Regions from separate parts of the Homo sapiens genome. Here all the other regions are linked to region 3. Evidence: promoter capture Hi-C in 16 types of primary human blood cells and fetal thymus (Javierre and others, 2016). All regions are on one chromosome and are shown on one strand. Each heading gives the region's core, a stretch centred on a gene start or on the middle of the fragment in contact. The rest is flanking DNA. Distances are from core to core; before and after follow the strand shown.

Region 1 (3,889 bases), core at 609-3,108, 520 kb after region 3:
AATTATTTCATGGGAACGGTAAAAATGGTGGAGAGGGTAAATTGGGCAAGGGAGAAGAACGGAGGAGAGGGAGAGGGAAGTGCTGCTGAACTTATTTCAAAGAAGAAGAAGAAAAAAAATGATCTCTTGTTTTTCATTAAATAATGGATGCTCTCCAGGCCAGCCAGAGTCGCGGCTGATTCTGTTTTGCGCTCAGTGGAGGAAAAATCAAACCAAACCAAAACATAAAACAAAACGGGAAAAGATGAGCGTTTCCTTTTCCTCCTCCCTTCCTCCAACCGAGTTCTTCCTTCAGCCCCAGGGCCCGCGAGGGGGAGGTCTTTTTCCTTTGCTGCCCGAGGTTTGCGTCCTTCCGGGGCCCAGCAGCCCGAGATGCGTTTGGTCCCGAAACCCGACAGGCGGGGAAGCGGGCTCAGTCTCTCCCTCCTGGTTTTCTCTCTCCTCTTCTCTCCGCTGCTCTTCTCAGTGGGCACTTGCTCTGTCGTGCGTCTCCGCACCCGGCGGTTCGGAGCAAGGGCCATTGATACTTCTGGGGGATTGGGAGGGTCCCAAATGGTACACCAATCCTTCCTCTACAAGGAACCGTGTCTTTATGAGCGGAGAGTGATTTCGATGGCCGAGGACCCTTGTCCTGCATCCCGCGGAGCTGACCCAGGACCGCTGGGTGGGCGGCGCTCTAGCTCTGGATGCGCTGTCTCGGAGCTTTCCCGGAGGAGGCTGAGGCGACACCGGCCCCCGGGTAAACTATGGCTCCTGCCTTGTGTAGAGGAGATCTTGGTGAGGTTGTGGTTCCCGCAGATCGTCCTGGGATTCTGTTCCTCCAAGTGAAAGGCCAAAGCCCTGCCTTGTTAATAAATCATAAGCCGCTGACTCATTTCAGGGAAGTGGACAGACTGACTTAGGTAGATGAGTGTCACAAATATGTTAAACAAAATTAGCAAATACAGGCCGGTCTCTTGCCATTATCACTGGCAAGATGAAGTCCAAGGTTTTCCCATATATTTTTCTGGGGATATTCCTGGTACCTTCCACCCCAATAAACGTATATTATAAATGGCACTGTATTCTTGATAGTGTTGTTTAGAAACGATGATTGCACTTAAATCAATAATATGAACCTACCAAAATTAAATACAACTGTTTCTAGTTAAAAAGAAATCCACAGCAATCAAGAATGCATAAGTTCGCAAATTCTGATAATAGAATTGCTCCTCTAGAAACTGTGGACAGGGTTGTGAAATGCATGACTACAGCTGAGTGGATTGCACAGCGAAAGGCCTGTTCAAGTCTGAGGGCTTCTGGGGGATTGTTTTGTATGTAGGTGAGAACGCTGATCTCTGCACAATTGATACATAGAAAGTTATTGAATTGATGTGGGAAACAAAATCATAAGAAATCCTTTGGCAATATCTGAAAGGTAGCATTTAATTCTCTGTCATTCAAGAAAAAGGAGCAGTTCAGCTTTCAAAATGTATCCACATTATACAGTCAGCCAAAAAAGTATAATCCCCATTCAAGCTATTAGAGTACAACATAGGGTGACAGTGGGATTTTTAGCTTGGTTAAAGCAAATAAAATACTGTAGAAGGAATGAAATCAAACTTGTTGAAACTTGGATTTGCAGAAATATAAGGCAGCTTGGAGAAGATGAATACAGGTGGAAAATGACCTTTTGATTATGTTCAGGAAGGCATTAGAATGTCAGGAGAAATGCTGGAAAGGAGATTTATTGCCGTAAGCACAGTTGACAAGTTCCATTTTGTCGAGTCTCTTGGATGGAGGAAGGAAACCAGCATTTCAGGAGGTGATTAAAAGAGCCCTGCAAAGTCTTCAGTAATCCAGGGAGACCCAAATACAGAAGAATTCTGTTGCCCCTAGTCTGTTTAGAGACTCGAAGAACCCTACTATTGGGTTTCCACCACAGATATGCTTATTCCTTGTCAGAATGTTTGTACTAGATACATTGTATGACTTATAAGATGGACTGGACCAACATATGTGTGTATCTTTCTTTCTTTCAATAGAAAATTTCTTCCCTCTCTTCTTCCTTCTTTCTTTTTGTCTGTATTTGTATTTTTACATATGTGTGTATATATATATATATATACACACACATCTGTGACTATATATGTATATATATATAAATATATGTGTGTGTATACACACACACACACATGCACACACACACACACACACACACACATATATATTCAGAGACCCAGAGAAGAAGAGGGGATCGAAAATATAAATTATTTTTTGTGATAAGATGAAGCTACATGTATATACTCTTTTACATTTTGAAGACTGCATTCATATTCAATGACTCATTAGAGACACACATCCACATTTTTGTGGCCAACAGGTCTAATATTAGAATTCCCATTTTAAAGATGAGGAAATGAGGATAAAATAAGAGAAGTGATGTGTCTAATGCCCTTTTCATTTTGCTACAAGACCTTTCACAATACTTGTGATTCATAAGCATGAACTAAATCCACATGAGCCTCAACACATCCCCCTTTCATGACCATTTTCCTTCTCTTCTTTTTAATTTGCATATTTGGTTAAAATCCTATACGATTTCAATAATTCTCCATATATACCAACTTTCTTTGCTTTATTTTTCTCATTAGCCCTTATGACTATTTAGCATACCTTAAATTTTACATGTTCATCTTTTTTGTGTGTTGCCTTTCTGCCACAGAAAATACACTCAAAAAATATAGGAAATTATTTTTAGGGGTAATTATTTTTAGGAGTAGGGGAATACTATTTTCTGCTGTGTCTCCAGTGTCTAGAAAAATGCTTCACAAATAGTAAACACTCCATAAATATTTGTTAAATCAAGCCGTTCATGAATGACTCCTTACAAATTGTCCATTTGGATCTAATTACCATCTTTCTGCGAATGCTTTCTGTAAGGAAAGAGTGGTATTAATTACTTGCAAGAAAAATAATGAAAGTAAGCTCATTGCAAGACTCTTGATACTTGATGGGGGAAATGAAATTCTTTCTTTGTTTTCCTTAGTTCTTTCTGACTATTAACAAAATGCAGTGTTTGGAACCTCATATGACATGGCCAAATGATGCCTCTGCTAAGGCAAGAAAAATTTTTATGAGTCTCATGTCTTTACTGCCTTCTACTCCTCATCACCTTGCTCTCACGTGTATATAAACTTCAGGCAATATCCCTTGTCTACGATCAGCCAGGAATGTATTTTCCCTGGACCAGTGCCTTGCACATACAATCTTTCCAGACTTTTCCCTTCCTTATTAAGTTTTACCTGTCCCTTTTCCCATTTCTTCCACTGTCTACTTTCGTTACTGTTTTAGCTTCCAAGATAATATATTTCAATTTTGTTGGAATCAAGTAGCCTCAGAATTGGATGGACACACAGTACGGCTTCTCTCCCAGTACAGCAAATCTTTTTTACAGGATTGACAAGTGAGAAGCAGTGTGGGTGAGAACTCTCTCTCTGAACACAAGATAGATGTGCTTTCTGCCTTTTACAAAGGCAATTATTTAACCTTTTAAACTTCAAACTCTTTATGTAGAGAATAATGACAAAGTAGTTCTCATCTTCTAGGGCTGCTGTGAGGGTTAAATGGGAAAATGCAGGCAGAGTGCATGGAATATTCCTTGTCAGTAGTAAGCACTAATACATATTAGCTAATACCAGTAACATCCTTGATAAATTATCTTTCAGATTCCATTTCAGTGCCATCAGTATTGGGGAAGGAGACCACTACTTTCCTGAGTTAATCAGTTCTTTTTAAGACAAATTCTCCAACTGCTATTAAGATTCTTTTTAATAGACTTAGTCTATTTCCTTATAACTTCTGTCCATTGGTTCTTGGTGTTTACTTAGAGAAATATAGACAAAATATG
Region 2 (3,595 bases), core at 770-3,269, 700 kb before region 3:
AGTGTACTAGATCAGGGTAGGAGGCGAAGCAGGAAAATTAAAATGAGGACATGTACTTAACCTTGTTATCCACAATAGCTGCACCCTCTCCAATATGTCAATTGCAAATAGCCCATTTTCTGAACACCACTGTCAGTCCTGAGATAGACCTGCATGGTCTCCTGGTTTTCTATATATTTCACTGGTTTGTCCTCCTTAGTCTCTTAGACATGTAAATGTTGAGATTCCCGAAGCTTAGTCCATCAACCCTCCTCCCCTGCCATTTTCTGTTCTCTATTGAGAGAAGCTCCTTTATGAAGTACCTAAGAGCAATCACACAAGAGCCAAACCTTAGTTTAGTTTCCAACCTTTTGCCTTATAAAATGAGTGTGCATCTCCCATGGTTTACTTGTTGGTAAAATAAAGATAGTGATAAGACCTATCAGAAAAGCTTGTTGGAGTCTTAAGTAGTCTAAGATATGTGTCCCAAAGAGACTCAAAAGAGAAGGCCTAACTGCTTATCCTTAAATAGACCTGCTCACAAGTTTGGCCCTGAGTTGGCATCTGGGAACTTGGATTTGGGGAGTATTTCCACACAACTAACTGATTAGAGTAGCTCACCATAACTATTTATGAAAACAATATGGTTTGTGTTGACCACCTCTTTTACTTCTGAAATTCTGGAATATTTGTGCGTACCAGACAGAGGCTGCCTGTGTGATTAGCCTCCAATAAAAACCCAGGGATCTGAGTCTCTAACTAGCTTACCTGGTTGGCAACACTTCCTGTGTTATCCCATCTAATTGCTGGGGGTTTAAGCATATTCTACATCACTCCACTGGGAAAGGATGCTGTGTCTGGTTTCCCTCAGAAAATGCCCCATGTGCCATTTCCCTTTGTTGATTTTGCTTTCCATACTTTTCCTGTAATGAATCATAGCCATGAAAGTGATTACGTACTGAGTTATTTCAGCCCTAGCAAATCATCAAACCCAGAGGTGGTCTTGGGACCTCCAAACATAACATGGAAAAAGCCTTTAGGTGAGTGTTAGGCATATCATAACCACAAAATAAAATTTGCTATTTTTATTATAGACCCTCTTTTTTTAAGATGAGGCTCTTCTGGCTTTAAGTATTACCTGCATTCTGATGATTATCAGATATGTTTCAGCAGTTGAACCCTTTTTTAGAACTACAAATTCATATGTCAAATTCCACATATAGGATCTGCATGTGAGTTTCTAATGGGCATCTCAAACTGAAGATGCACAAAAGAGAACTCTGGATTTCTGCTTCAAGGAAAAATCTCCACCACTGTCTGTCACAGAGCTGTTGAAATCACTACCATCACCCTGCTGTGTGGAGTCTCCAGTGTTTCCCCACTTTTGTTCACACTTCGTGTATAATCCATGAATAAACCTTATTTATCTCCAAAGATATGTCACAAACATTAAACACTGTTCATCGAATCACTATTACCTCTCTCCAACCTGTGGTAGGAGCACCCTATCTTCTTGCCTTTATTTTTACCTCCACCAGTCTATCTTTTACAGACTAGCCAGTATTGTCTCTTTAAATTAAAAGCAGAACATCTCTTCATTACTTTAATCCCCTTGGTGTTTCTCCATTTTAATTTAAATATGATCCAAACTTTATCCCATAACCTATAAGGACTATATGATTGACCCTTGCTCACCTCCCTGTGCATCTTTTGGCTTGCTAAAGTGTCCTTTCTCTTCCCCCAACATGACAAGCTGGCTTCCACTTAGCTCAAGACTGGGAGCGCTCTCTGCCTGGATCACATTGACTCCAGGTTTCTCATGGCTGCCCACTCTCATAAGTCAGGTCACTTTCAGACCACCTGACTTAAAGTAACCACTGCCCTCTTACTTTATAGCCAATGTTTTATTTCAATCAACTATCACGAACAAATTTTTGCTTTATTTATTTTCTATTTTTTATATTTTTTTCAAAGTTATTAAAATCAGTCTCCGACCTGCTTCCTCTTTCTTAGCGCTATTGTTCAGAAGCAATTATTTTGATTGAACAATTTTGGCTCTTCATTTTTTATTAGAATTAGCTTTTTAACTCTAAATAGTATAGATGTTTCTTCATTTATCAAATTTAGTCATATATGTTTACTTCTCACTTTGAAAGATAGAGCTATGGTTCCTCGCATCACTCTTAATTTACCCTCATCCTTTCCTCCCAAAGCTGATTATTGTGTAATATTACTCCTTCTACTGTTTAAAAATTGAACAATATATAACTTTTTCAATGCCTTTTCCCATCAACTTGACATAATATCTCTAGAGTTCTCTGATGTAAAAGGAAGATATTGATGTCTCTTTCCTTCTCTCCACGAACCACATCTAAATTTCTGTCATATGAAAACCCATTCTTTTAATTGGGTTATTTTTTACTGTTGAATTTTAGAATTTTAGAAATCATTTGTATATTTTAGATAAAAATCCTTTACCGATATGTATATTGCAAATATTTTTCTCTCAGTCTGTGGCTTCTCTTTTTATTCTCTTTCTCAGAACAAAAATTATTGATTCTTATGAAATCTAGCTTATCAATTTTTTCTTTCATGGATCATGCCTTCGGTGTATCTAAAAAGTCATCACCAAAAACTGAGTTACCTAGATTTTATCCTGTTATCTTTTAGAAGTTTTATAGTTTTGTATTTTACATTTAGGTCTGTGATTCATTTTGGTTTACACTTTTTTGGATGTTGTAAAGTCTGTATTTAGATTGATTTGTTTTCTTTTTGCATGTAGATGTCCAGTTATTACAGGATCATTTGTTGAAAAGATGATTTTTTCTACATTATATTGACTTTACTTTTTTGTAAAAGATCAGCTGGCTATATTTATGTGGGTCTATTGCTGGGCTCCCTAGTCTGTTTTATTGGTATATATACACCTTTTGTCAATATCGCAGTGTTCAATTTTCACAACTGATATGATTGATGTGTCATAACATCATATTGTACCCCATAAATATATACAACTATTATTTGTCAATTAAAAGTAAAATAAAATTTTAAAAGGTGCTTGGTAGAGTTTACCAGTGAACCCATCTGGGCCTGGTGATATGTATTTTGGAAGGTTATTAATCATTGATTTAATTTCTTTAATATATGTACCCATTCAGATTGCTTATTTCTTCTTATGTGAATCTTGGCAGATAGTGTCTTTCTAGGTATTGGTCAGTTTCATCAAGGCTATAAAATTCTTGGGCATAGAGTACTTTATATTGTACCTCGATTATCCTTTTCATGTCTATGGGATGTGTATTGATGTACCTCTTTTCATTTGTTTGTTTTTTTGTTTTACCATATTGCCTGGGCTGGCCTTGAACTCCTGGGCTCAAGTGATCCTCCTGCCTCCACCTCCCTAAGTGTTGGAATGACAGGCATAAGCCACTGTGCCTGGCCTCATTTCTGAGACCTATTGATTTGTTAATATTTTCAAAAAATCAGCTCTTGGTTTCATTAATTTTCTCTCTTGATTTCTTGCTTATAATTTCATTAATTTCTGTTCTAGTTTTTATAATTTATTTCCTTCTGCTTATGTTGCATTTAATTTGCACCCCTTTTTCTAGTTTCCTAA
Region 3 (4,161 bases), core at 117-2,616:
ATTACAGTATTAAAATTCTTAGTTGCTAGAAAGTGGTTAGAACCATTGAGAAACATTTTATCAGGTTACGTGGTTAGAGCAAGATTTGAAAAAACAAAATCAAAAACAAAAAACCCAATGTAAAATATCAGAACATCTGAGATGTCCAAGCTGAAAAGTGTAATAAACGCTATCAACTGTAGTGGAAAGAAAGTTCCAAAGTATGAAGTCCAGAGCAATTGTTGGTAGCATGAGTGGTGGGATTGAAGTAAACTGAAATAAATGGAAGGCATTTGTTTAACCTATGATATTGCTGAAAGACAAGTCCCAGCACAGTAGCTTTCTCCTTTAAAGACTAGCCAGATGTCGGCCTTTTTAAGAGCACAAAGAAGGGAGCCACAGAAAGAGGTAACAATGCTGGTAGAGAATGGCAGCTACAGTAAGGTTGTTTTTAAATGGATAGAAATCTATGTAAAGGTGACTCCGACAAAACACAGTAGCTGTCTCCTCCTCAGTCATTTAGGCAGAAACTTGCACTAAGTAAAAAGGTGCAAGGTATTTATCAGCAATTCCCATTATCTGGTACTTTTATTGCTTTGGCATGATTAGCAGAGACTGTTTGGCCAGCGTTGTCAACTATTTGCTTTTTCATCAGCCTGATGTTTGGTCTGCAATCCCTCTAAAACTAACAGCAAAAGAGAAACTCGGAAACTTGGGAAGTTTCAGTTGGCATTCAGATGTCACCCCAGCCTACTCTCTGTGAGATTTATTCTGCATTTTAGAAGCTCAGTGGCTGTTGCTCTTTTTGATAGCCAACAAGAAGCAACGTCATAGACCTGTTTGGCTGCTGTCCTGGGTAGAAGGGTTTGGCAGCCCTAGGGAGATGAATTTCTCCAGCGTTGGACCCGCCCAGAGCGGAGAAGCAACACCCTTCCAGCCACTACTCTGTTGCTATGAAACAAAAGACTAGGAAGGTAAGCGAAGCAGGAAGTCCCGCCTTTCAGCCCCAGATGGCTTTGGCTCCCGGTCCCGACGCTCACGCCCACCTGCCACCCCTTATTGGTTAGCTCCTTCGTGCCTTGCATCCCTTCGTCCATTTCCTTTCCCGTTTCCACTTTCGTTCCCGGGAGAGTCCAGGCCCCTCATTTCTCTCCGAGTCCAATTCCTTTCTGACGTGCTGCGAGCGGGCCTTCCTCTGGGGCCATTGTGTACTGTGGAGGACGTGGACGGGGCGGCAGCGCGAGGAGGACGGGCGCCTCCCGTCCATTGGCTGCACCCGCTGTCGGGCAGTGCGCGGTTGCGCGGCATTGGCTCAGCGGCGCCCGGCCCCGCCCCCGCCCCGCCCCGCCCCGAGCCTGGGTCCTGTGTGTGCCACAGGGGTGGGGTGTCCAGCGAGCGGTCTCCTCCTCCTGCTAGTGCTGCTGCGGCGTCCCGCGGCCTCCCCGAGTCGGGCGGGAGGGGAGAGCGGGTGTGGATTTGTCTTGACGGTAATTGTTGCGTTTCCACGTCTCGGAGGCCTGCGCGCTGGGTTGCTCCTTCTTCGGGAGCGAGCTGTTCTCAGCGATCCCACTCCCAGCCGGGGCTCCCCACACACACTGGGCTGCGTGCGTGTGGAGTGGGACCCGCGCACACGCGTGTCTCTGGACAGCTACGGCGCCGAAAGGCAAGAAGGGAAGGGGTCGCCGGGGAGGCTCCACACTTCTTGCCGGCCCGGGGGCCCGGGGTAGCCAGGCGCGGGCCAAGGAGGAAGAGGGGACAGCCCTGGCTCTCAGCTGCCTTTGCCGCCGCCGTCCAGTTTGAAGTGGGGCATTTAAAGACCAGAACCCGCAGGCCGGGGAGGAGGGAGAGGGCGTCCAGGCAGACGGCGGTGAGGACTGCAGCAGGCGGCCGGGAGGCGCGTCCACCCAGGCGCCGAGCCCACAGTGTCCCTCCCGCGCCCTAGACGGACGGTGCTGCGGGCACGGGAGGGACACTTTGTCCCCTCCCAGTCCACCTTCCTCCTGCAGCTCAGACCCGAGGGGCCGGGAAGGGGCCTGAGCAGGGAAGGGACACAGGCGTCCTGAAACAAAGCTTTGGGTTGAGGGCAGAGGCGAGGAGCCAGAGAAGTGAACTCCTCCTTTCCGTGGCCGCTCTTGTCATTTTTCTCTTTTCTCTTTTCAAATGGGCTATTTGTGTGTTAATTTCATTTGGTTCTTGGGAATAACGACTCACCGCGTTGATTTAAAGAAAGGTGTTCGTGTGTCCGTACTTGGTGGTTTTAGTGTGGGACATGCCCTGCGCTTTTGTTGACAACAGAGCTGTCCCTTACGTTTGTGTAGGATAATCTTTATGTTTATGTAACTTGGAGAAATCTAACAGAGTGAAAGTGAAGTTTCTGCGTAAGGCTCCCAAAATGTATGATAGGACCTTCAGTTGTTCTGGTATTTTGAATTGGAATTAAGGCAGGAGGGGAAGAACATTCTGTTTTTATCTAGGTGGGGGAAACCTGTTTAAGTTTTGTTTGTTCTTTTTTTTTTTTTTATGAGTTGAGTATTAGTTCAGCCTTAGCTACTTGAAACGTGAGCAGGATGCATCTTTAACTCTTAGTATTGTAAAAGCAAATCTAGGATCACTGCTCTTAAAACTACTGTGTGTAAAGATTGAGAGTGTAAATTCACAAGCTTATTGATAAAGATGAATCCGGAACTTTTGGTTTTGCTCTAATCGATGGAGGAAGATGCAGTGGTACAAGTTAGTCTCTAGTTTTCTGGTGGGTAAATATTTTCAAAACCAACTAACTTTTCTTTTTTTAAATCTGCCTTTTAAAGAACTAAAATTCCAGATGGCAAACTCAATGAATGGCAGAAACCCTGGTGGTCGAGGAGGAAATCCCCGAAAAGGTCGAATTTTGGGTATTATTGATGCTATTCAGGATGCAGTTGGACCCCCTAAGCAAGCTGCCGCAGATCGCAGGACCGTGGAGAAGACTTGGAAGCTCATGGACAAAGTGGTAAGTTCTGTCTGACGTTGCCTGTGCGAAACACTATTCACTTTGTCTGTGGTTTCTCCAGATTTATTTATACTGTTAATTAATACCAACCATTGTTATGGCAACAATCTTTTGATTTCAATTCATCATTTTTCTTCAACTCTGTGTTTTTTGAAAAGTTGGATTCAAAGACTTTTTTGTTTTTTAACCTTTCATCCTTTCTACTCTTTAAGGTTCAGAGTTCCTCTACATGACTCAGTATGTAAAGTTTTACCATTGGCTGCTTTTTGTTGGTGTATGGCCATAGAATGCTTGGAAGTGTTTGTTCTGTCTTCTGTGAGGTTGTGTTGCTCTTAGATAACAAAAGAGTACCAGCAGGTTATTTAAGTCTTTGACCACTCATGACAATCATCTGGTATGATACTGAAAATATTTACTGGGGAAAGAAACAGATTAGTTCTTAAGTGAAGAAGCAGTAGTTGAGGGAGTTTCCATTTTCATCTTTGAGAATTCATCTTCATTAAGAAACTTTTTTTGTTGTTAATGGGAGAGTTAACAGTTTCTTTCATCTACTATTCCATTTTGAAACAGGAAACCTTTCGATGGCACATTGTTTATTGTGAAAGGAAAATTTATGTTGGGGGTGGTGAGGCTGAGAGTATCAGAAACCTCTGTGGTTTCTGCATGTTGCTTTCAGACAAACTATAATTTCACAAGAAGAAATCATGATGGGTGTCAGTATCCAGAGAAGTCAATCTGAATACCTTACAGAGATTTACTCAGAAACTGTAGCTGTCAGTATCCTACCTTACTAAGTATGATTATAAAATAAATTTAAGATGTAGCTTGCTGCTTTGCAAAAATTAATAATTCTTTTTTTTGAAGCAGTAGCACTGTCCTGGATTTATTAGTAAATGTTTGGAACACATTATGACTTTATTTCATAGATATCTGGGGCCAATTATAAGTTTAGTTGAGGCAAGACTCAGTATCTTTATAACTGAAGAAATGGAGGTTTTAAAAACAAATTTCTGTGTAAGGATGTGCCAAAGCATCCATGAAATCATGTGATAACATTCATCTTTGCTTTGATTTGCTCCTGTCTGTAAATATTGGCTATAAAAGCCACTATCAGTAGTAGTAGCAACATATGAATGTGACAAGATTTCCATTATTTTCATTTATTCTGATGGAAGGGACACACAGATGAATGA
Region 4 (3,828 bases), core at 1,249-3,748, 540 kb before region 3:
CACATTACATGCCTATATTACATAACCCATAAATATATATGCCTACTATGTACTTACAAAAATTAAAAATTAAAAAATTAAAAAGTGTGTATATGAAAGTATCTCTATTTAAATGTTCCAATTATTATTATCCTGCTATGACTAAAAGTGACAAAGATGAGTAACTTTATCAAAGATCAATATATTGAACATTGCAACAGAAAATACCTTTAAAAATATCGGAACAAAGAGAAACAGTTGTGATACATTTTAAAAGTATAAGTTGAAATACTACTTTAAATAGATAACTCTGAAAAGTCTTTTTTTAGTAGAAATTAAAGTAGTTTTGTTCTGATGATAAAAGTACTTCATATTAATTTTTTAAATACTATATGATATGTTAAAAAAAACTAATCATGATACTACCACCCAAAGACAATGCTAATATTTAAACTATTATCCAAAACTTGAAGAATTGCTTGCTTATTCCCAGAGCTAATATTGGCAGAAAATAAAAATAAATGAACATTTTCTCACAAGAGTTAATAAATTAAAACAATGAATCTATAAATGGAAGATGGAATATATTTCACCATATGTACTAGTCCATTCTCATGCGCCAATGAAAAAATACCCAAGACTGTGTAATTTATAAAGAAAAGACATTTCATTGACTCACAGTTCTGCATGGCTGGGGAGGCCTCAGGAAACTTACATTCATGGCAGAAAAGACCTCTTCGCGGGGTGGCAGGAGAGAGAATTAATGCAGAGCGAAGGGGGAAGGCCCTTATAAAACCGTCAGATCTCCTGAGAATGAACTCACTATCACAAGAACAGCATGGGGGAAAATGCCCCCATGATTCAATTATCTTCTCCTGGTCCCACCCTTGACACATGGGGATTATTACAATTCAAGATGAGATTTAGGTGGGGACACAGAGCCAAGCCATATCACCATAGGAATAACAATGTTGACTTCCTGTTACACATTCCTTAGACTTCTGTGGACAATGTCGTCTTGAGTTGACCCATGGATAGCATAAAACAGTTAAGCAGCAAACCTCACCTGAGTATGATCAAAGAGATTGATTAAAGCTATCAGAGAGATGAATTGTGCATGGAAATGGGGGATTTTTGTTTCACTACTTTAGGTGTAAGTTGCCCTAAACTCCAGAGTAGTCTATAAAACTCTTCTACTGTGTCGGGAAAAGATAAAATAAGAAAGAGAAATTGGGGCAGTACAATGAAACAGGAAAGGAAAAATTCTAGAAAATCTCTGTCCACTATCTTAGGCACTTTGGAAAGTATATTTTGTAGAACAAATATTTTCATGTTTCAGCATTACACAAATCTCTAGAGAAATAGCAAATTAGTAAAGATAATAAATTGAGTTTTAGCGGTAGAGTTGATGACAACTCTGAACTTAAAGTCTGACTTTTGAACAGTTGCAAAAAGCATTATTGAAAAAATATTTTTCATACATTTGTATAAAAGCTTAGAAGCACAAATTTGCCTGTTCCACAGTGTACTCCAACATAACACATGGGATAGCAAACCAAGTCTTGCCATGATAACAGTGAAAAAGTCTCAGCAAAGCAGTGCAGTTATAGCTCCTTCAGCTTTAACCAGTTATGTATGTTAATACTTCCTTCTGTAAAACTAAAATCAGTACCACACACTATGAGACATTTATAGGACAAGCAAGGTATAATAAATGCATAATATTATAGACAAAGTAAACATGAGAGAAAGTCAGGGAGGAACAAGTAGGTGTGACCTGAGGCTTTTGTGGAAAACATATGAGTGAGTGTTATTTGAAAAGGACCTGTGGGTTGGACAACGTTAATAACTAGGAAGAGTTTAAGAGGACTTTTCAAAACTGAAACAGCAAAAATTAAATTGTACCAATGAGCACATTGCTTAGAGTGGATGGTGAGAAAACAGACCTTGGGCAAACAAAAGATACATGATGACAGATAAGGGGGAAAAGTGGGTAGAAGGTAAGTCAAATAATTTTGCATATTATAAAAAGTATCAGTATTGGGAGTAATGGGGTCAGAGTATATTCTTAGACCTGATTCTAACCTCTGGTTGATTTGAGACAAATCTCTTGTCTGCATCTCATTTCCTTTCTCTGTAAAATGAGGTTATACATGGCTATTCTCTTTTAAAATGTGCTTTAAATAAAAAATAACTAAAATGTATTAAATGCTTACTCTGTGAGCAGAGCCCTGCTTTGTAAGCATCCATTTGATACTTGCAACTTTATGAGATAGACTATGTCATTATTCCCATTTTAGAGATACAAAATTGATGATCAAAAACATTATTCAAACATTTTATAACTAGCTGACTGGGAAAAATGTGATGACAGGAGAACATTTTAAGGTAAATGAGTCAGGCAACCATGAATAGGAAATAGTGCCTAGTGAGGGGGATTTCAAGTGGAAGCAAATCACTTAAGAACACAGTCTGAAAATCAACATATCTATTGATGAGGGTGCCCCCAGTTTTTCTCTGTATAGTGGGAACATAAAAGAATGAAGCAGCCTAAGAGACATTTCAATGAGTTTTATTAAAAATGGTTGTATAGGAATATTTAAAATAAGAATTTGATTTTGGAGACCAGTAAGGCACAGTTGAATTTTATAGTTAACTCCAACATTTACTATCTGGATCCTGAACAAGATGCCTTGAACCTTAGTTCACCTATAAAATAAGAGTCATGATACCTACAATGCCGGGTAGTTTGAAGAGTGAAATTAAAGACTATACAGAATGCCAGTATTGTCTCTGGCATATCTTAATTGATAGCTGTTACCATCATGCTGATGGTGGGTTTGGAATTTTCATCAAAGCACCTTATAAGCTGAGGTAAGAATGATATCCTTTATTAGGTATAGTATTAAAAATAAATCTTAACTGAGCACATACTATAAGGAGTCCATTACTATTAGAAAATGCAAAGTAGTATGTGATGCCGACCCCTTATATTAATATTTTACAGTCCACCAGGAACACTAAGAAAAGTGTATAAAGAGAAAACAAAAATTCAAATCAGCATATGATAAATGCAATAAGAGAAGTATGGGTACATTGAGAGCAGAGAAATGAAAGACCTAATTTTTGGTTACGAGCTGAGGAGCATAAAAGCCATGATCTGGCTTTTGGAAAATGGGTAAAATTTCAAAATACAAAGATGAGATCTTACCAGGCATAGGGACTGGAGGGAACAAGGGAACATTAATGAGGTAATGACAATACTCTGGTTGAAGTGGAAAGTACATACAGCAAGAATAATAAAAGTAAAGTTATACATAGTTAGCCAATGGTTTTGAATGATAGGCCAGCATTCTTATCCTTCAAGAAGCAGGGAAAGAGGCACCTTTAAGAAACAAAACAAAACAGAATGACATAAAAAGTTGGTGACATAGGAAGATTAATATAGAGTAAAAATAAATTGGAAGTATGGCAGTGGGGCAGGCTAGTGCAATAACTGATGAAGTCAAGATAAAAAATATAACTTCTTTAGCCATAAGCTTTCATACAAAGATCCTTTATTGGGGAAAATTTATCCCTCATAATGTGTTCCCTTTAAATACTGATCTGTTTTTCTCCTTTAAGACCCAGAGTGCAGGAGGGATAACTGATATCAAAATTCCAAGGAAAGGATGAAAAAAGTAGGAAGAAAACCCCAAGAGTCAGGTGGGAAGATAGGTGCATATTGATTTGTGTTAATAGTATTTAAGAATTGTTTTTGGGCCGGGTGCAGTGGCTCACGCCTGTAATCCCAACACTTTGGGAGGCCGAGGCAGGCGGATCACCAGAGGTCACGAAGTTTGAAACCAG
Region 5 (3,869 bases), core at 631-3,130, 750 kb before region 3:
TAATAAATTCCTACAGTTGCCATTAGGGGTAGGGGCCCTGTCTCTATCATCTCAGGTGAGAGTGAAATACTTTTCTGGGAAATAATAGAAAACAAGGAGCCTCATAGGTTACAAATAACAGCTGTAACCTTGGAAATTGTATCAAGTTATAAAAGTAGGGAACTGAGTGATAGGAATTGTTCAATGATAAGTAATAAGAAAATCACATTCTAGAAGAGTTTTAGAAAAGAGCACAACTCTCAGGCTATGTCATACACAATCCAAGGAAGATGCAATCAGCTTTGGCAAAGGGAGTACTGAAAAACCATGACAGATTGATCATAATGCTCTTGAAGACCTATTAACTCGATTTTTCTTCAAGTCAATATTAACAACAGATTATGTATATTGATTGTTTTAAGAAAGCTTTTCTTTCCAGTATGATCTATCAGGAATGCCTGTCAGTTACATTTCTTGGTAAAAATTAATAGATTTGCTTGGCTTTTATTGAACTCAGGTAGTATTGTAGCCATCAGGGACATAAACACTAAAAATATAGGAATACAAGCATAGAAATGTGAAATGGTAGTATATGGTCATGACTATTCTATAAGAATAATTCTTCCACTTATGGAGCTTATATTTTTATAAAAATTAAATGATTAGATATCAATAATCGCCCTAATGGAGTTTCCATTAGGGTGATTATTGATAGATAGATAGATTGATATTTAAGAAGACCTTTATAAATATTTATAAATATATGTATACTTATATATGACTATATTTGGGATTTGAAATTAGGGGCAACTACATATTAGTTCTTCTACATACAGTTCTTGTTAAATATATATAAAGTATCATCACCAAGGTGTTATTATAGACAGGCTAGAAGTATGTGGGGCTTTCTAAGAAGACTTTTTTTTTTGAGATGGAGTCTCGCTCTGTCTCCCAGGCTGGAGTGCAGTGGCGCAATCTTGGCTCACTGCAATCTCCACCTCCCGGGTTCATGCCATTCTCCTGCCTCAGCCTCCTGAGTAGTTGGGACTACAGGCACCCACCACCACGCCTGGCTAATTTTTTTGTATTTTTAGTAGAGACAGGGTTTCACCATGTTAGCCAGGATGGTCTCTATCTCCTGACCTCGTGATCCACCTGTCTTGGTCTTTCAAAGTGCTGGGATTACAGGCATGAACCACCGCACCCAGCCTAAGAAGCCTTTTTAAAAGATGTAAAATTTGAGATGGCTATGAGAGGGTGGGATGTTCAGTTAGAGAAGATAACAGAAGGAGAAATGTGAGAAGCATGAAGATATGAAATAAAGTGTACTGGACTGTAAGTAATACAATATGGCTGGGTATAAGGTATGGAGTTGTTGAGTAAAGATAAAAGGCTTTTCTATATTCTATTTGAATAGGAATGAGGGCCAGGCCCAGTGGCTCATGCCTGTAATCCCAGCATTTTGGGAGGCTGAGGCGGGAAGATCATTTGAGGTCAGGAGTTCAAGACCAGCCTGACCAACATGGTGAAACCCTGTCTTTACTAAAAATACAAAAAATTAGCCAGGCGTGGTGGGGCATGCTTGTAGTCCCAGCTACTTGGGAGGCTGAGGCAGGAGAATCACTTGAATCCAGGAGGCGGAGGTTGCAGTGAGCCAAGATCACACCACCGCATTCCAGCCTGGGTGACAGAACGAGACTGTCTCAAAAAAACAAAACAAAACAAAAAAAAAAAGGAAATGAGATCATAAACTAAGTCAACTAATGAATGGAAACTAGAAACTGAAATGAGATTTCAATGAACAACTCTTGGTGATAGGGTTTGGCCATGTGTCTCCACCCAAGTCTTATGTTGAATTGTAATCCCCAATGTTGGGAGAGGGACCTGTGGGGAGGTGATTGGATCATGGGAGCAGATTTCCGCCTTGCTTTTTTTGTGATAGTGAGTGAGATCTAGCAGTTTAAAAGTGTGTAGCACTTCCGTCTTCACTCTCCTGCTGGCCATGTGAAGATGTACTTGCTTCCCTTTCTGCCTTCCACCATGGTTGTAAGTTTCCTGAGGCCTCCCCAGCCATGCTTCCTGTACAGTTTGCAGATCTCTGAGCCAAATTAACCTCTTTTCTTTATAAATTACCCAGTCTCAGGTAGTTCTTTATAGCAATGTGAGAGTGGACTAATATACTTGGTCACCAAGTAAATATGAAAAGTGAGAAAAATGGTAGTTTTTTGGGTTATTTACTAAATATTTCCCATTTTCCTTCCAGGCAGATAGTTTTTTCCTTTTGGGTTATTTACTAAATATTTCCCATTTTCCTTCCAGACAGTTTTTGCACTGTCTCATCCTCCTGAAGTGAGGTGTGACACTTTGACTTTCTTCGGTTAATAAATATGAGTGGAAGTGACATATGCTTCTAGGTGTCCTTTTGTTAAGCAATTTGATATGGTCTCTTTCCTGTGGCTCTGGTAATCATGTGAATGTGTATTGAGATAGATAGTTGATTCCCAAACAACTATGATGAGCAGAGATCTCTGAAAAACCCACGTTGACCACATTGTATGACGAAGAAATCAAGTTTTGGTGTGTTAAGCCATTGATATCTGGCAATTGTTATTTGTCAAGGAACAAGTTACTCTGACCAATAAACATGCTGTCCAAAATTTCAAAATACAAAATTAATTTACCAATACCTGTTTGGCCTGGGTAAACTCACAAATTTTTATTTAAACCCCAATCTCATGCTTAGATTTAGAATTTGAACATATCATGACATCAACATATCAATTCTTGCAGGTTAGCTGTTTTTTAGGGTTTTATTAGATTATCTTCTTAGAAGATGAAAGCCATTTTTTCAGTTATAAAGCAAGATATATCAGTGACAGTCACTGGCAAGAGAATATTTGAATAACATGGTAATAATTAGTATATCAGACAGATCTTTAAGGGCCAATGGGATCATATCTGAAAATCACATCTTATTGGAGTCTGCAACACCAAACAAAGGAGATACATTTCTAGGAAAGGACAGGAAAATGCTCTATTCTGATTGGAAAATGATAGTCATTGAGGTATACACAGTCAGCAGAGAGTTGCATCTATGGAATGAAATTATATTTGTGTCTGGAGGGCAGGGGACAGTGAAAATAATGATAGCTTTTGAGGAGCATGTTTTGTAGTTAACTTGTTCCTACATGAATTGTCCCTTATTCATCTTGTTCCCTTCTTGTCCAGAGTTTTGTGGACCTCGTGGCGAATCTTTGAGAGCAGGGACTTTGTCTAGGGTTGGCAGACTGTAAACTCAGGCTTTTCAGAAAGTGGCTTCCCTAAGAGCAGTCTCCTCCCTGAACTCCAGGAAATCCCATAAGCTGGGGAAAGCTTCTGCAGGGTACCAATGGCCACATTTATCAGGACCAATTTTTGTTTATTAGTGTTACTATCACATTGAGTCTTCCTTGTTTGATTGCAGGCACACCCCCATTCTACACCCCCATTCTTTTAGAATATTATTGTTGAATTTTTTTAAATTAATTTGGAAAGAATAAGAGAAATTAATGGGAAAGAAAAGACAGTTTAGTTACTAGTTGAATTTAACCTCTGAGTAACCCTCTTGAGATTCAGCCATAGAGTAAGAAATAAATTTTTATTGTTTATACACATATAAATGTATATTTAAAAAATATATGTTTTATTAAGCAATGTTTATCTTTACTGAATATTATAACTCTAGTATCATACATACACACAGAGTCATAGGGATCTTCATTTCAGTTGTCTTATTGTTTTGGAGGAAAGAAGGGAAAGAAATGACAACCTACCTCTTGAGCAACCACTAAGTGCTCTTAAGTTAACTAAATCTGCTTGGCACTACTAATGTTCTGGAGCCACATGCTTAC
Region 6 (3,872 bases), core at 904-3,403, 720 kb before region 3:
ACAACAACAACAACAACAAAATATCAGGATGCGAATAGTGGAAGTGACATTATTACAGAACTAATTTTGAATCCACTTTGATTTATGAAATTGAAATATTTTAAAAGCTTTAGGTCTTTAACCAAGACACCACATTCTCCTTAGTTTTACTTTGCCACCTTTTCTACTCCTTGGTTTCATTTGTGGATGTTTCTTACCCCAGACCATCACCTGCATCTCTTATTGTTGGTGTGCCTCAGAACTCCATCCTTGGACAGCTTATCTTATCTATCCACACTTAATGTTTTATTATTATCTCATTCTCATCTAGTGTCTTGGCTTTAAATACTGTTTATAGGTGAATGACGCCCAGATTTCTATCTCTAGCTAGACCTTTTCCCTGAACAGTAGATTTGAATGTTCAATTGGTGAACCGCTATCTCCAACTAGATGTCTAATAGTCATTTCAAACTTACCATGTCTAAAAGTGAGCTTCCAACCTTCCTTGTGCCACCGTACACATAGCATTGATGCAGGACAGGCAAGCCCCAAAATTGGAGCTTAGCTCAGGAGGGTTCTTGACTTTGCCCAGGAAAGAATTCAAGGGTGAGCTGGTGGTGTTAAACAGCAACTTTTATTGAAGTGGCGTGTACAGCAGCAGCAGAGGAATGCCTCCTTGTGGAGTTGGGCTATCCCATAGGCAGTGTGCCCAAAATAGCAGCTCAGAGGCAATTCTGCCATCATATTTATACCCATTTTTAATTATATGCAAATTAAGGGATGGTTTGTGCAGAAATTTTTAAGAAAAAGGTAATAACTTCTATGTAATTAGGTTGTTGCCATGGAAAGAGGCAGTAACTTGTGGGTGTTGTCATGGCAATGGTAAACTGACATGGCACACTGGTGGGTGTGTCTTATAGAAAGCTCCTTCTGCCCTGGCCCTATTTTAGCTAGTCCTCAATTTGGTTTGGTGCCCAAGCCCCACCTCCAGAGTTGAGTCCCACCTTCTACCTCACCATCTACCAAAGATGCTTCTTTGGTGATCTTTAACCTCTCAGTAAATGGGAGTACCATTCTCCCAATTGCTTTGGTTCAAATTTCTGGAATCATTTTTTATTCCTTAAGATTTTCAAACAGACGGGCAAACAATCTGCAGATTAGTGATTCCATAATGGAAACTCTGGCCCTGTGCATTTCATAACAAGTATTTTTCTATGGTAATTGGCTCAAAAAGCCAGTGTGAGTCCACATATTAATCCACAACTGAGGGGTAACTGTTGATAATGCAACCTCTGCAGTATCATTAGACTTGGGGTAAAACACAGGAGGCTGAGGCAGAGAATTTCTCGAACCCAGGAGGCAGAGGTTGCAGTGAGCTGAGATCTCACCAGTGCACTCCAGCCCAGGTGACAGAGCAAGACTCTGTCTCAAAACAAAGAAAGAAAGAAAAGCATGCCATGCAGGTTACTATCTATCTATTTAATCTACTTCTGAGACTGGCCCTATTTGAATCCTCCAAATGAAATGATGTTGACACCATACTCATACAGCCATACGTCTTGATTAACTTTACTAAAGCAAAGTATTTGTGTTTCATTGTAGGAAAATGATCTCACAAATAAATTCTGGCAGTCTATATACCTTAAAAACATAAAGCCTACTGAAATAGATTAGACACAAAATTATGTAATGTAGAAGAGGACTGAGAATTTATTGTGTACCTATTATGTTTCAGATGCTATAATTAGCACTTCCTAGTTTATAGTCTCATTTAAAAACTCCCGGAAATTATCTAACAGATAAGAAAGCTGATTTTAGCAAGTCAAATCACTTACATAAGTAATTTGGCATAAGGCCTACCCCAAAAATACTCAAATAAATTCTATTATTAATATGTATTTTCCCAGACTCACACTACCAGTGTGAGATGAAGCCTTACATCCAATATAGTCTTGTTAGATTGCAAAACCTCTTATTCCAATAGTCTATGATGCAATTGCTTCTTGAAATATGCACCTTATTAGCAATTATTTCCTTTCCTTTCAGTATTCTACTCACCAAGTAGACTCTCAATGACTACATAGTGAAGTCAAAGTAAAATATCTGCACGATAGCTCTTCAGTGTTAGTGTGACAAGGCCTGCAAACACTGCCAGTTTGAATGAAAATGTGCTGAGATCAGTAGTTTCTCTGGTAGTAATAGGATTCAATGTTCTTTAAGGGGATTTACTTGTTCTTCCTGCACTTTTAGTTATCTGAGACTCCTTGTAAATTCCAAGTGAGTACATAACACTTAAAAGTGGCATTTAACCCACTCAATTATTTCTACAATTTAGCCAAAACCTTAGAAAATAGTTGGTATTTTATGTGAGGTAGTTTGGGATCATTATTTGCTGTGTTGAAGTGATCTTGATGGAAATGCCCAAGGACCCTGCTTCATTAACTTTCTAGGGCTAATAATACAACATTCGTTCTTCAGAGAAAAATTAAATAAATAATGATAAACCCATCCTGGCTTTTCTGTTTGTCAACTCTCCAGGACACTGAATTGTACTGTCATCTATGAGGACTATTGCATGTGAAAGCCTATGGTACAAGGGTTTAAAAGGGGAGAGAGTGGGATCTTTGCTGTCAAAGAGATTGCAATTTATTGAGAAAGCGATTTAATTCAGTTACTACACAAATGCCACAGACATAGTCATCACTAATGTCATAATTCAGTCTTTGGAAATTTTGGACTTTTGAAGATTGTGGTATCCCAGTGCATTATATTGGAGGGAGGTACCAGATGCTATAGTTTCCCTGGGAAGAGGTGCACCTATACACTTGGAAAAGGCAGTCATGAATGAAAGGGAAACAAAGAATCTGGATGAGTCTGAAATATAACTTTTCTAAAAGATTTATCAGTTCTGTGTGCTTAGGTTTGGCAGACAGTCAAATGAAATGTGTTTCTCCCTTTCTATGTTTTACTTGCCTTTAGTTACCACTAACTTTGCTGAAACCTGCACAGTCTTAAGGGGAATTATGTTGAGAACAAAGGGGTGAGGCAATACGGCAAATGTGGTTTGGCTCACATTCATTCGCATTTGCAGAGCAAGCAGCAGCCTATCTCTGGGATGATCAAGAAGTAGTAGTTCTTGATATTTCAGAGCCAAAAGACAATCACTTTCAGAACTAAAGTGGAGGCGCACCTAGTAGCTGGGGACAAAGAGGCAACGTATTACCTAGAGGTTACAGGACACCCTAGCCACACAGAAATATCCAGCACCACCACCCTCTCTCTTTCCAACATATGTTTGAATGGCATTTCTCAAAATATGATCCCCAGAATTCTCATGTCATGATAACCTGAGGATTTTTATTTTTAATGAAGAGTACTGAACTGTAGCTTTGTCAAAGTCCTAATCTCTAGATTTGTCAAATCAGAATCTCTGGTAATGGGTATAGGAATATACACTCAAAATGAACCCTCAAATTGATTTTTATACCCACTAAAGTTTGAGAAATACCAAGTTAGGGGATAGTAGCCCTTGAAATGGAGAGAAGGGATTTCCCTTGGCAGTGTTGTTTTCATGTGTGCAGGTAGGATGATTGACAGGCCCTTCCTGGGTCAGGTTTTCACATGATCAACACAGTGATGTTTGCTTCCAGCTGCATTTTTTTTTTAATGGTCATCATGTCCCTCTGCTCCCCAGATTTAAATGTAATCACAGCAGGATGTCTTAATTTTAGTGCTCCAGTTCAATCGGTATACATTTCTGTTTTTCAGAAGCACATATGTAATTTTTTTTTTGACAGAGTTTCACTCTTGTTGCCCAGGCTGGAGGGCTATGGTGCAATCTCGGCTCACTGCAATCTCTGCCTCCCGGGTTCAAGCGATTCTCCTGCCTCAGC

The links. The method cuts DNA at HindIII sites, captures the fragments that hold promoters and counts their contacts. A CHiCAGO score of 5 or more calls a contact.
Region 1: a contact is called between a fragment that was not itself captured here and the fragment with the promoter of CBLB in region 3, in 1 of 17 cell types (neutrophils). The highest score is 7.7, in neutrophils.
Region 2: a fragment that was not itself captured here is called in contact with the fragment with the promoter of CBLB in region 3 in 1 of 17 cell types (naive CD8 T cells); the score reaches 5.7 in naive CD8 T cells.
Region 4: a contact is called between a fragment that was not itself captured here and the fragment with the promoter of CBLB in region 3, in 1 of 17 cell types (naive CD8 T cells). The highest score is 5.2, in naive CD8 T cells.
Region 5: a contact is called between a fragment that was not itself captured here and the fragment with the promoter of CBLB in region 3, in 9 of 17 cell types (activated CD4 T cells, naive CD8 T cells, naive B cells and 6 more). The highest score is 9.6, in activated CD4 T cells.
Region 6: a contact is called between a fragment that was not itself captured here and the fragment with the promoter of CBLB in region 3, in 1 of 17 cell types (total CD8 T cells). The highest score is 5.3, in total CD8 T cells.

The regions. Positions count from the first base shown.
Region 1 is chr3:105,350,535-105,354,423 of GRCh38, reverse strand. No RefSeq gene overlaps it. Among named protein-coding and RNA genes, the nearest start is that of ALCAM, 14 kb to the left of the region's middle. RefSeq lists enhancers at 460-609, 650-739, 328-1,146. The HindIII fragment of the contact is 5,591 bases long and covers 1-3,889 here.
Region 2 is chr3:106,567,913-106,571,507 of GRCh38, reverse strand. All of the region lies in intron 2 of LOC101929485 (a long non-coding RNA gene), which reads left to right. Among named protein-coding and RNA genes, the nearest start is that of LINC00882, 670 kb to the left of the region's middle. The HindIII fragment of the contact is 3,173 bases long and covers 433-3,595 here.
Region 3 is chr3:105,866,217-105,870,377 of GRCh38, reverse strand. CBLB (Cbl proto-oncogene B) reads left to right here and starts at 1,366. Exons shown (of 19, transcript NM_170662.5): 1 at 1,366-1,642; 2 at 2,787-2,968. The coding sequence starts at 2,801. RefSeq lists a silencer at 1,168-1,397 and enhancers at 3,155-3,244, 3,365-3,414, 3,445-3,494. The HindIII fragment of the contact is 9,979 bases long and covers 1-2,051 here.
Region 4 is chr3:106,406,155-106,409,982 of GRCh38, reverse strand. It overlaps LOC101929485 (a long non-coding RNA gene), which reads left to right. Exons shown (of 16, transcript XR_007095992.1): 12 at 3,604-3,684. Among named protein-coding and RNA genes, the nearest start is that of CBLB, 540 kb to the right of the region's middle. The HindIII fragment of the contact is 2,045 bases long and covers 1,476-3,520 here.
Region 5 is chr3:106,612,076-106,615,944 of GRCh38, reverse strand. All of the region lies in intron 2 of LOC101929485 (a long non-coding RNA gene), which reads left to right. Among named protein-coding and RNA genes, the nearest start is that of LINC00882, 630 kb to the left of the region's middle. The HindIII fragment of the contact is 2,946 bases long and covers 408-3,353 here.
Region 6 is chr3:106,588,647-106,592,518 of GRCh38, reverse strand. All of the region lies in intron 2 of LOC101929485 (a long non-coding RNA gene), which reads left to right. Among named protein-coding and RNA genes, the nearest start is that of LINC00882, 650 kb to the left of the region's middle. The HindIII fragment of the contact is 4,088 bases long and covers 110-3,872 here.